Linked DNA regions of Homo sapiens: region 1 is linked to region 2. The links are contacts of gene promoters, found by promoter capture Hi-C in blood cells and fetal thymus (Javierre and others, 2016). All regions are on one chromosome and are shown on one strand. The core of a region is centred on a gene start or on the middle of the fragment in contact, and the rest is flanking DNA. Distances in the headings are between cores, read along the strand shown.

Region 1 (6,815 bases), core at 10-2,509, 560 kb after region 2:
GGAGTTGCCCAAGCTGGAGTGCAGTGGCGTGATCACAGCTCACTGCAGGCTTGACCTCCTGGGTTCAAGCAATCCTCAGCCTCCTGAGTAGTTGTGATTACAGGCATGCGCCACCGCGCCTGGCTAATTTTTGTATTTTTTTGTAGAGACAGGGTTTCGCGTTGGCCAGGCAGTCTCAAACTCCTGGACTCAAGCCATCTATCCGGCTTGGGCTCACAAAGTGCTGGGAATACAGGCAGGAGCCACCACACCCCACCTGGAAATAAAAGTTTCTTTCTTTTCTTTTCTTTCTTTCTTTCTCTTTCTCTTTCTCCTTCCTTCCTTCTTTCTTTCTCTTTCTTTTCTTTCCTTCCTTCTTTCCTTCTTCTTTTCCTTCTTCCTTTCTTCCTCCCTCCCTTTCTCTCTCTCTCTCTCTTAGATGGATTCTCCTGCCTCAGCCTCCCAAGTAGCTGGGATTACAGGCGCACACCACCACACCAAGCTAATTTTTTGTATTTTTAGTAGAAACAGGATTTCACCATGTCGACCAGGCCAGTCTAGAACTCCTAACCTCAGGTGATCCACCCGCCTCGGCGTCCCAAAGTACTGAGATTACAGGTGTGAGCCACAGTACCGGACTGGAAACTCTTTAAAGCAGCTTTCCCAGAAGTCCTTCCCAGCATCTTCCACATACGTCTCATAAGCCGTAATTTGGTCATGTGGCCATCCCTGGCTGTAAAAGTGGCTGGGAGGTGCAGTGTTTTTGCTGGTTATATTGTCACCTCTAAAAATAATGTTGGTAAGAAGTAGTGGGTAAGCCACTAGCAGTCTGTGTGACATAGCAGTTGTCATATAGTTAAGATTTTTTTCTCTTATGCAATAATTCCACAACTCTTTGGTGAAGAGTTGTGTGGGGCTGGTGTGGTACATAAAGCAACAGAGCAAAAAAAAAAAATGGTGAAATACAGCTTGATCCATGTAGTCACTCCGCTGCTTGTGCTCATATAAGGGAGCAATTGTCTACTGAGGGAATTGTTTTCTAGAATTCCAGGTATCTAGCTCCAAGTTGAGGAAAACCCACAGTGTACTTTGGAGCAGTGGGATTGTCAGAGATATAAGGGAAAGACTCAAGAGGCTTTTGAGACAATTGCGTGTGCGCACACACACACACACACACACACACACAATTTGGCCCCAACCATTTCATTTCAGAGCAGGTGTATATTCATTTCCCTCTTTTTTTTTTTTTTTTTTTTTTGAGACAGAGTTTCACTCTTGTTGCCCAGGCTGGAGTGCAATGGCGTGATCTCAACTCACTGCAACCTCCACCTCCCAGGTTCAAGCGATTCTCCTGCCTCAGTCTCCCGAGTAACTGGGATTATAGGCACCCGCCACCACACCCGGCTAATTTTTTTGTATTTTTAGTAGAGACGGGGTTTCACCATGTTGGTCAGGCTGGTCTCGAACTCCTGATCTCAGGTGATCCGCCCACCTCAGCCTCCCAAAGTGTTGAGATTACAGGCATGAGCCACCGCACCCGGCCTCCCTCTACCTTTTAATACTTCATACTAAGACGTGGAAATTCTCTTGCATAACCCAGCAGAGTTGTCAAATCAGGAAATTCATTACTGATACAATACTTTAATCTCTACTGCATATTCCAATTTGTTAATTTCCAGTAGTGTTCTTTTTGTGTTGTTGTTGTTGTTGTTTTGTTTGTTTGTTTTTTCTGAGCAGGGTCTTGCTCTGTCATCCAGGCTGGTGTGCAGTGGTGCAATCACAGCTCACTGCAGCCTCGACCTTCCTGGGCTCAGTTGATCCTCTTACCTCAGCCTCCTGAATAGCTGAGACTACGCGCAGGCAGCCATGCTTACTAATTTTTGTATTTTTTATAGAGACAGGGTTTTATCATGTTGCCCAGGCCGGTCTTAAACTCCTGGGTTCAAGCAATCTGCTAGACTCAGCTTCCCAAAGTGTTGGGATTACAGGTGTGAACCACTGCACCCAGCCTGCCAATAGTGTTCTTTATAGCAATTTTTTTTTTCTATACAGGAACCAGTTCAGGATTATGTGTTGCGTTGAATTGTCATTTCTTCTTTATTGCAGCTTCTTAGACTTTCTTTCTATTTTTTTATGACATCGACATTTTTGACTTCTTATTCACCTTGGAGAAGGTGTAAACAACTGGAGCAATTTTGCCTCCAGAGGACATTTGGCAATTTCCAGAGACATTTTTGGTTGACAAAACTGGAAGAGTTGGAGATAGATGGGGTGATGGTTGCACAACAATGTAAATGTACTTAATGCCGTTGAACTGTACACTTCAATATAGTTAAAATGGTAAATTTTATGTTAGGTATGTTTTACAAAAATAAACAAAAAAATTTGGCCAGGCGCGGTGGCTCATGCCTGTAATCCCAGCATTTTAGAAGGCCAAGGCAGGTGGATCATCTGAGGTCGGGAGTTCAAGACCAGGCTGGCCAACGTGATGATACCCTGTCTCTACTAAAAAAAATAAAAAATTAGCTGGGCGTGGTGGCAGGTGCCTTTAATCCCAACTACCCAGGAGGCTGAGGCAGGAGAATTGCTTGAACGTGGGAGGCAGAGGTTGCAGTGAGTAGATACCATGCCACTGTCCTCTAACCTGGGAGACAGTGAGACTCTGTCTCAAAAAAACAAAAACAAACTGGAAGGAGGGTGCCACTGATGCTACTGGCATGTAGTGGGTACAGACCAAGAATGCTGCTAAACATACTCTAATGCACATGACAGCCTCCCACAAAAAATGATTATCCAACCCAAAATGTCAATAGTGCCACGGCTGAGAAATCCTGGTATGAATTATTAGCATAACCTTGCTAAAGGGTATTAAGTGTGTATATCCTCTGAGCAAACAGTCCCAGTTCTAGAAATGTATTCTATGGAGATATGACTAGTGAGCAATGATGTATACACAAAGGCTTTTTATGGCAAATACCATTCATAATAAAGACAAATTTTAAAACCACTTAAATGTCTATCATAACAGCCAGGAAAGTTGGCATGAACCTGTAGTCCCAGCTACTCACTTGAGGCCAAGAGTTCAAGTCCAGCCTGAACATCATAGCAAGACCTCATCTCCAGAAAAAAATGTCAATCACAAATGAGAATGGTAAAATCAATTTGGAGTACATTCACAAAAAGGAAAATGATGCATCTTCTTTTTGGGGGGCACTGGAGCAGGGACAGAGTCTTGCTCTGTTACCCAGGCTGCAGTACAGTGGCACAATCACTATAGCCTCGACCTCCTGGGCTCAAGCGATCCTCCCACCTCAATCTCCTGAGTATATGGGACCACAGGCATGTGCCACTATGCCTAGCTAAAATTTTTATAATTTTTTGTAGAGACAGTCTCCCAATATTGCCCAGGCTGGTCTCAAACGCCAGGACTCAGGGAATCTCCCATCTTAGCCTCTCAAAGTGCTGGGATTACAGGTGTGCGCCACTGCACCTGACCGCATCTACTTTTAAGAAAAGCTTTAGGCTGGGCGCGGTGGCTCATGCCTTAATCCCAGCACTTTGGGAGGCCGAGGTGAGCGGATCACCTGAGGTCAGGAGTTTGAGACCAGCCTGGCCAACGTGGTGAAACCCCATCTTTACTAAAAAATAGAAAAAAAAAATTAGCCGGGTATGATGGCGGGAACCTGCAGTCCCAGATACTTGGGAGGCTGAGGCAGAGAATAGCTTAACCCCAGGAGGCAGAGGTTGCAGTGAGCTGAGATCGCGCCACTGCACTCCAGCCTGAGCGACAGAGCAAGACTCTGTCTCAAAAAGAAAAAAAAGTTTTAGATGTAAACGTGGAAAGATGTTTATAATATACTAGGTAAGCCAAAGACAGGTTTCAGGCTGGGCACGGTGGCTCACACCTGTAATCCCAGCACTTTGGGAGGCCTAGGCAGGTGGATCACCTGAGGTCGGGAGTTCAAGACGAGCCTGGCCAACATGTTGAAACCCCGTCTCTACAAAAATTCAAAAATTAGCTGGGCATGGTGGCAGGTGCCTGTAATCCCAGCTACTCTAGAGGCTGAGGCAGAAGAATCACTTGAACCCGGGAGGCGGAGGTTGCCGGGAGGCGGAGGTTGCCGTGAGCCGAGATCGTGCCATTGCACTCAAGCCTGGGTGACAGGGCGAGACTCCATCTCAAAAAATAAAAACAAAACACCAAAAAAAAAACAAGTTTCAAAACAATACAATATACACATAATCTCACCATGCTTAAAAACTATAAAAATTAATGTAAAGATTTCAAAGTCTTAGACACATGCCAAATGTTAACATGATTATCTCTGAAGGGTAGTATTAAAGAGGAACTTTCAGTTTCTCTAGCTTGTTGGAATCATGAATCAGAAATATATAGACATTAAAATGCAATAATCAGGTTAATATCCAACAGTTACTAATTAAATAATGACTGGCAATAATTCATGGAGCAAGAAAAGGCACAGCTCGGAGTTCTACGCAGAAGGCTTGGTACATTATCAGAAGCAACTACCACCCCTAAAACCCAAAGGAATTTTTTTTTCCAAGACAGGGTCTTGCTCTGTTGCCCAGGCTGGAGTGCAGTGATGCACTTACAGCTCACTGGAGCCTAAAACTCCTGGGCTCAAGCAGTGCTCCCACCTCAGCCTTCTAAGGACCTGGGACTACAAGCATGCACCACCACACCTGGCTTAATTTTTAAATTTTTTTTTGTAGAATCAGGGTGTCACTGTTGCCCAGGCTGGTCTCATACTCCTGGGCTCAAGTGATCCTCCCACCTTGGCTTCCTAAAGTGTTACGATTACAGGCATGAGGTACAGTTTCTGGCTCACAAGGATTTCTCAGGTGATTCTGAGACAGGGTGAGCTGTCTTGTGGGTAAAGGAAATGGAAATTTTTAAGAGATGTGGGACTCTCTCAAAGCCATTGAAATCATCTGCTCTGAGTCACATTATATTGTTGTTGGCCTCTGACCATCAATTTGTAACATTATTTTTCACTGGAGAAGCCTAAAACATCTTAAAACTCAAATGGAAAAATTTCAATGGCAAGTTATAATACGACTAACAGTAGGTTACGATCCATTAATGAGTCACCAAACTTATTTAGTAGGTTAGAATCAACTTTTTTTTTTTAACAAGGCAGACAAGATTCAAATAAAATAGAATAAAAACTTTGTACTGGGTCTGAATAAATAATTTATTTCCTTTTGTGGGTTGTGGTCAAGAAATTGGAAGGTTACTAAATTACACACTTTAAAAAATGGATTATTATGCAAGCTCAGGGTTAGGAGAGTCCTTATTTGATAACTTAAGCTTAAAGTTGTTGTCAGTGTCATATCCTTTAATATTTCAATTTGATCAGGCATTTTCAATCTCCTATATACTTGAAAATTACTTTTTAACATTGGAGAATTAAACTTCATAGACTTTATTTATTTATTTATTTTTTGTTTTTTTGAGACAGAGTCTCACTCTGTTGCCCAGGCTGGAGTGCAGTGGTGAGATCTTGGCTTACTGAAACCTCTGCCTCCTGGGTTCAAATGATTCTCTTGCCTCAGCCTCCCAAGTAGCTGGGATTACAGGCCTCCACCACCATACCTGGATAATTTTTTTGTATTTTTAGTAGATTCGGGGTTTCACCATGTTGGTCAGGCTGGTCTTGAACTCCTGACCTCAGGTGATCTGCCCATCTCGGCCTCCCAAAGTGCTGGGATTACAGGTGTAAGCCATGGCACCCAGCCTAAACTTCATAGACTTTAGAAGCCACAAAACAAGGGAAGATAACTTTGTCCATTTTATGGTAATTTTGAAAACGTTAATAATATAAAATGGATTGGAGTATCATATCCTGTTTTAATGATTCAAAGCATTATTTTCATTAAGACATTTAAATTTCTACCTTATTTTCCTTTTTTGAGAGCTATAGAAAACTTTGTTATTTTTGCCTTAACCCAAGTCAATTATTATATCACAATATTGTTAATAAATTAACATTTTGTGGCATTATACAATTTTGAATTTTAAAATAACAGTGCCACCTGGTGGTGACTCTAAACATGTTTTTATTTCTCTTCGGTATACATACCAAAAAGTGGAATTGCTCTTTTGACTGTGGACATTCGGGAACTAGCAAGTGTGTTTAACCTGAGAGACTGCCAAACTGTTTTTCAAAGCTACTGAACCATTTTATACTTCCACCAGTAACGTATGAGGGTTCTAATTTCTCCACATCCCATCCGACACTTGTTACTTTCCTTTTTTTTATTATAGTCAACCTAGTGGGTGTACAGTGGAATCTCATTGTGGTTTTGATTTGCATTTCCCTAAGTAATGCTATTGAGCATCTTTTCATGTGCTTGTTGCCATTAGTATATCTTCTTTAGAAAATTATCTATTTGGGGACAGGCATTGTGGCTCACACCTGTAATCCCAGCACTTTGGGAGGCTGAGGCAGGAGGATTGCTTGAGTTCAGGAGTTTGAGACCAGCCTAAGCAACATGGCATGACCCTGTCTCTACAAAAAGTATGAGTCTGTAGTCTCAGCTACTCAGGAGGCTGAGAGGGGAGGATAACTGAGAGGGAGAGGTTGAGGCTGCAGTGAGCCATGGTTGCACCTGAGCAACAAAGTAAGACCCTGTCTAGCAAAAGGAAAAGAAAAAATATCTATTCAAATCGTTGCCCATTTTTTAGTTGGGTTGTTCATTTTTCTGTAGCTGTTGTAAGAATTCTGTGTATATATTGGACACTGGAGCCTTATCAGGTATATGATTTATAAGTATTTTTTCTCATTCTCTAGGTTGTCTTTTCACTTTCTTGA
Region 2 (6,119 bases), core at 1,530-4,029:
ATCTAGAATGCTTAACTAGTCCGGGATGGTTCTCATTTACTTGAGAACTCAAGGAATTACAGTTTTGAAGTTACTCTAGGACAGAGTAACTTCTGTGTAAAACTTTTAGTAAAAAACTAAAAACAAACTTTTAAAACAATCCAGGCCAGGCATGTTGGCTCACACCTGTAATCCCAGCACTTTGAGAGGCTGAGGTGGTGGATCACTTGAGGCCAAGAGTTTGAGACCAGCTTGGTCAACATGATGTAAAATACAAAAATACAAAATTTTTGTATCTCTACTAAAAATACAAAAATTAGCTGGGCGTGGTGGTGTGCACCTGTAGTCCCAGGTACCCGAGAGGCTGAGGCACGAGAATTGCTTGAGCCTGGGAGGTGGAGGTTGCAGTGACCCAAGATCACACCACTGCACTCCAAACTGGGCAACAGAGCCAGACTCTATCTCAAACCAAAAACAAAAACAACCCAGAGCACAATTATTTTATTTGTTTAATGACTCAGAAGGATTTTTGGATATTACAATATGTTTTCCAATTAAAATGAGACAAATATGTTATCTGAATTGTCTTTAATATTGTTAGATTCTGTGGTGTGGAGAATATATAGTGTGGCCACCCTCTTTCACTCTTAAACAGGACCAACGTGGGCATTATTTTACTGGTGGTTACTTTTCTGAGAATATTTCCAATCATTGCACCTCTATGTCTTTTCCACCCAGTGTATCACTGATCTTTTTTTTTTTTTGAGACGGAGTCTCGCTCTGTCCCCCAGGCTGGAGTGCAGTGGCCGGATCTCAGCTCACTGCAAGTTCCGCCTCCCAGGTTCACGCCATTCTCCTGCCTCAGCCTCCTGAGTAGTTGGGACTATAGGCGCCCGCCAACACGCCCGGCTAATTTTTTGTATATTTAGTAGAGACAGGGTTTCACCGTGTTAGACTGGATGGTCTCGATCTCCTGACCTTGTGATCCGCCCGTCTCGGTCTCCCAGAGTGCTGGGATTACAGGCGTGAGCCACCGCGCCCGGCCTGTCACTGATCTTTCAAGCAAATATTGATTCTAGAACTTCCATTTCTTGGTGTTGCACTTTCAGAAAAAACTGATTGTCTCATTCTAAAAGCCATTGCAAAAAGTTAACAACAAACTCAACTTTACTGACTTTACCCATTCAGCTTATTGTCAGCATTTATATTAACTTTTCTTTTCTTGTGAAGCCTAGTATTTCTATCACTCTCACCAATTACCTTAAGAAATAATTACTTTTGTATTGAAGTCAACCACTGAAATTCATGCTAAATATGTACTACTTAATAAGATGCCATATGTTATATACATGCTTAGAATCCCGTTTATCAAGTTTATTTCATTGTAATACAGATATCGAATCCATCTAATAGTGGTGGGTGGAAGCAAAAACGATACATTGCTCTTATTTCTAAAACCAAAGATATGAGGAAATGAACAAAATCATGGTTAGAGAGAGGGTAATTTAAAATTATCAAGTTTTGAATTGCAGCAATTCTCGAATTTTTTTTTTTTTTACCTTTTTCTAAAGATTTTATTTCTTTTGTGCTACTTCCTAACAAACATCTACTGGACTACTGGACCAAAATGGAAATGCACACGATAATGAGGTCAGGCACAAGGCCAGGAAGTAAGCTTTCCCAAGATGATGATGATGATGATGATGATTTAATTAATTAATCAAATAATTTTTTGAGACAGAGTCTCCCTCTGTCCCCAGGCTGGAGTGCAATGGTGCGATCTTGGCTCACTGCAACCTCCAGCTCCCGGGTTCAAGCGATTCTCCTGCCTCAGCCTCCCGAGTAGCTGGGATTACAGGCGGGTGCCACCATGCCCGGCTAATTTTTGTATTTTTAATAGAGACGGGGTTTCGCCATGTTGGCCAGGCTGATTTCGAACTCCTGAGCTCAGGCAATCCTCTCGCCTCAGCCTCCCGAAGTGCTGGGATTACAGGCCTGAGCCACCATATGCCAGGCCCCAAGATTATTTAAAAGCACTCACAGGTGAGTGTGAATCTTCGGGCTGGCTTCCCACCTCTCCCCACCAGCCTAAGGCATCAGGAGCTTTCTGCCTTCTTCACTCCCTCGCATAAAAACCCACTTAAAAAAAAAAAAATAATAAGATCCGCCGGAAGTGGTGGCTCACACCTGTAATCCCAGCACTTCGGGAGGCCGAGGCGGGTGGATCACTTGAGGTCAGGAGTTCGAGACCAGCCGGGTCAACATGGCAAAACCCCGTCTCTATTAAAAATATAAAAATTAGCCAGACGTGGTGGAGGACGCCTGTAGTCCCAACTACTCTGGAGGCTGAGGCAGGAGAATCTCTTGAACTCGGGAGGCAGAGGTTGCAGTGAACCGAGATCGTGCCACTGCACGCCAGCCTGGGCAACAGAGCGAGACCCTGTCTTAAAACAGACAAAAAAACGTAACATGGCAGAGAAGGCGAGGTGCACCTATTTTCCCTTATTGTTTAGCCCATACAACTTCTAGTTGATGGGCTGAAATCCCACCAGCATCTCTGAGACCTTCACACCTTCTATTCTCAGGTTAAGTGGACAGTGGGTCTGGGGTTTTGTCTCTACAGAGCCACATCGGCCGGGCCTCACAGATGCGTTTTCCAGAGATTCCTGAGCTGCCATACTTCTTTGGTCCCATACGACCTTTTCCTCCCCTCAGCCCTCAAAATCACCCTCTCTCCTGCCTCCAGCCTCTCAGGGCTCTTACCTGAGGTAAAAATCGCCTCCTGCATCTCTTCCTGGGGTAAAATTCCCGCCCGCTGGACACGTGACCACTGAGCCTGCACTCTGTGCTTCCATTGGCCAGACCAGGCCCCGCCCCTTGGGCTCCGGGCACTTCCGTCCGCGAGTGGGCACAGCCTAGGGAGGTAAGGATTGTGGGGATTCGAGGCTGCAGCCTGGGCAGCGCCGAGGTCCTCGGGAGTGAGCAGAACCCTCATAACACTGGGCGGAGTGTGACGGTGGAGAAGTCGGCGTGAGGCTAGAAAGAGCTGGTTGTGAAGGGTTGGGAAGACCCGGCAAAGCAGTCCGGACTTCTTTGGGAGTGGCGGCTCCCATGTTGTTAGCGAGGCCGGGCAAAACGCGGCAGGGTTAGCCGGAGGGCGAGGGCAGAAGCCTTTCAGAGGTAAGGGTGGGAGGATTTAGCAATCAGACAGATTCAGGGAAAGAGGAAGGCAAGAGAGAGGAGGCAAACGTGCCTCAGGGGTCTGGCTAGGTGTGGGTCATGGCTTGGTAGCAGAAGAACTTTTGAGGAGGGGCAGGAAGATACTGCTTTTCAATTGGCACATGTGGATTCTATACCTTAATTAAAGCCACTCCCTTACATACACACATTTAGGTATCGCCAGACTCGCCTGATGAGGAATAATTATTCTTTCCTCCATATTTCTTAACTCCTGTCTTTTCCATGAAACGGCTTGGCATTAAACTCCTTCCCAGAAGATTGCAAGAAGTAACATGCATTTATTTACTTTACTAACACATGGGTGTCTTTTGAGTTGATTGTTCAAATACTAATTGTGAAATGTCAGTGGATAAGTCACTTTATTTTCTTAAGTTACTTCCTTTATTTTGTACAGGTGTGTGCAGTTTGCTTCGGTTATATGGATTTAATGTTTGACAATAATCAGTTTTAAAGATATTCACCTAACATTGAAGTGCATTAATCATCCTGTGTTCTTGGATGTCTACCTTTTATTAAAATCAATTTTAAATTAAATATCTTTGTAAAAGTTACAAAAATTGGCCGGGCCTGGTGGCTCACGCTGTAATCCCAGCATTTTGGGAGGCTGAGGTGGGTGGATCACCTGAGGTCAGGAGTTCGAGACCAGCCTGGTCAACATGGTGAAACCTCATCTCTACTAAAAATACAAAAAAAAAAAAAAAAAAAAAAATCAGCCGGGTGTGGTGGCATGCCCCTGTAATCCCAGCTACTTGGGAGGCTGAGGCAGGAGAATCGCTTGAACCCGGAGGCGGAGGTTGTAGTGAGCCGAGATCATGCCACTGCATTCCAGCCTGGGGGACAGAGCAAGATTCCGTATCAGAAACAAACAAACAGAAAAACCAACAACAAAAAAAACCAAAAAACAAAAATAACACATGCTTATCCTTACTATAAACAGGAAAACCATCCAAAGATGTATACAGAGAAAGTAATCGCCATTCCCACCCCAACTCCCAGGTAACCAATATTAACAATCTGGGTTGATTCTTTTCACACTTTGTTGTATGTTCATACAAATTTATTCAGATATGCATGTACAACGTTGATTGGCTAATTATATTTAAAAATTATTACTTTTAAAAATAGCTGCATAATATTTTATAGTAACTACGTGCCATGATTTATCTAAACATTCCACTACTGATGGATTAACAGATTGTTTCCAATTTTTTGGAAACAATGACAAATAATGCTGCAGTAAGAATTCTTGGACATATGCTCTTGAATACTTTCTGTGGCATAGATTTGTTTTGGCTTGCTGGCTGAAATTGTAAGAGCATTTCAAATTTAATAAATATTGCCAATTTTTCCTTCCAAAAATGTATAGCAGTTTACATTAACAATACCAGAAAGGGGTCATCATTCTCCTGAATACCCAACAGTACTGAATATATTGCTCTTTAGAAATTTTTGCCAGGCTGATGCATGAAAAATTCTATCTTGTTTTAGTTTGCATTTCTCTGACTACTGCTGAGATTAAACATGTTTTAGATGTTTATGAATCCTTTGGATTTCTTCTTCCATGAATTGTCTAATTATGCATGTGGCTGTGTATGTGTGTATATGTGTATGCATCTGTATGTTTGTGTGTGTATGAGATCAAGTGATTTTCCTATTGGGTAGGTTGTCTTTTTGAAAATCTAGTGTAAAGGTGCATTAGTTAAAATCAGGCCTAGCTGTATAAATAACAGAAAATTCCAAAATAATATTAAATATATTTCTCTTTCATGTAAATGAAGTCCAGAGGTACAAAGGTTAAGGACTGATATGGCAGCTCTGCCCCACTAAGTCCTCTGGGTCTTAACTTCCTACCAGCTCATTTTTCTGCTATTTCTGTGTAGTGGTCCTTGTTTTCATGGTCTCAGGTGGCAGCTTCTGTTTCAGGAAGCAGGATGGAGGAAGGACTGTAAAGGAACAAAGGCCAAAGGCACAATGTCTCTTTATATATATGTAACTTAAATTGTAAAATATAATGTTCACATAGAAATATAATGTTTACACAGAAACTGTACCACAATGTATAGTTATAAAAATTATTTTAAGGAAATGTCCATGGAGCCTCCCCTCAAGTGAAGAAACAGAGCATTGGAATTTCAGAAGCCCGCTTTTCCTTTCTAATCACAACTCTCCCTAGAGGAAGTCTCCCTCTAGACCTAGAGATTACTATAATTCTGACTTTATGGTAATCATTGCCTTGCTTTTCTTTAAAGTGTTTCACCCAAGTATGCATTTCTAAATGACATAGTTTGCCTATTTTTGAATCTTGGTGTTTGTGTTACTTTGGTTCTTGCTTCTTCTATTCAGTGGATGTTTATTGTATATGATGATTCAATTTCATCAATTTCATTCGATGTATTATATATGATGATTTCAGTTATATATGATGATTATTAAATAGGATACAATAGTATCCTGTTGTATAAACATACTTCAATTTATCCATTCAACTGTTGATGGACCTTTGGATTATTCTAATTCTTGTATATTACAAAGAATGCTGCTACAATATCCTTGTACATGTATCCTAGTACACATACATGTTTCTCTGGAATATAGATTTAGGAAAATGTTTTGGATTATTGAGCATACATATCTTCACATTTATTGACTAACACCAAACTGTTTTCCTAAGTGATTATACCGATTCACCCATCAGTAATGTTTAACAGTCTGTACTGCTCTATATCCTCACCAACTCTTAGCAATTTCATACTTGAAAATGTTGAGATCTAGTAGATGTCTAGTTGCAGCAAAGGCTGGAAGATGCAGTGTTCATTCTGAACAGTTATGTGCATAGTTACTATTTGGAAATTCTATTATTAATATAAGAAAAAAACATATATTGGGAAATACACAGCAAT

The links. Contacts are between HindIII fragments. The CHiCAGO score rates a contact against its expected background, and 5 or more counts as called.
Region 1: a contact is called between a fragment that was not itself captured here and the fragment with the promoter of SHOC1 in region 2, in 5 of 17 cell types (endothelial precursors, M2 macrophages, total CD4 T cells and 2 more). The highest score is 7.1, in endothelial precursors.

What each region holds. Positions count from the first base shown.
Region 1 is chr9:112,355,660-112,362,474 of GRCh38, forward strand. It overlaps a transcript of PTBP3 not described here. Among named protein-coding and RNA genes, the nearest start is that of HSDL2, 21 kb to the right of the region's middle. The HindIII fragment of the contact is 4,467 bases long and covers 1-3,493 here.
Region 2 is chr9:111,792,158-111,798,276 of GRCh38, forward strand. SHOC1 (shortage in chiasmata 1) reads right to left here and starts at 2,780. Exons shown (of 28, transcript NM_001378211.1): 1 at 2,743-2,780. LOC124902249 (a long non-coding RNA gene) reads left to right here and starts at 4,061. Exons shown (of 2, transcript XR_007061734.1): 1 at 4,061-4,215. The HindIII fragment of the contact is 10,914 bases long and covers 1,653-6,119 here.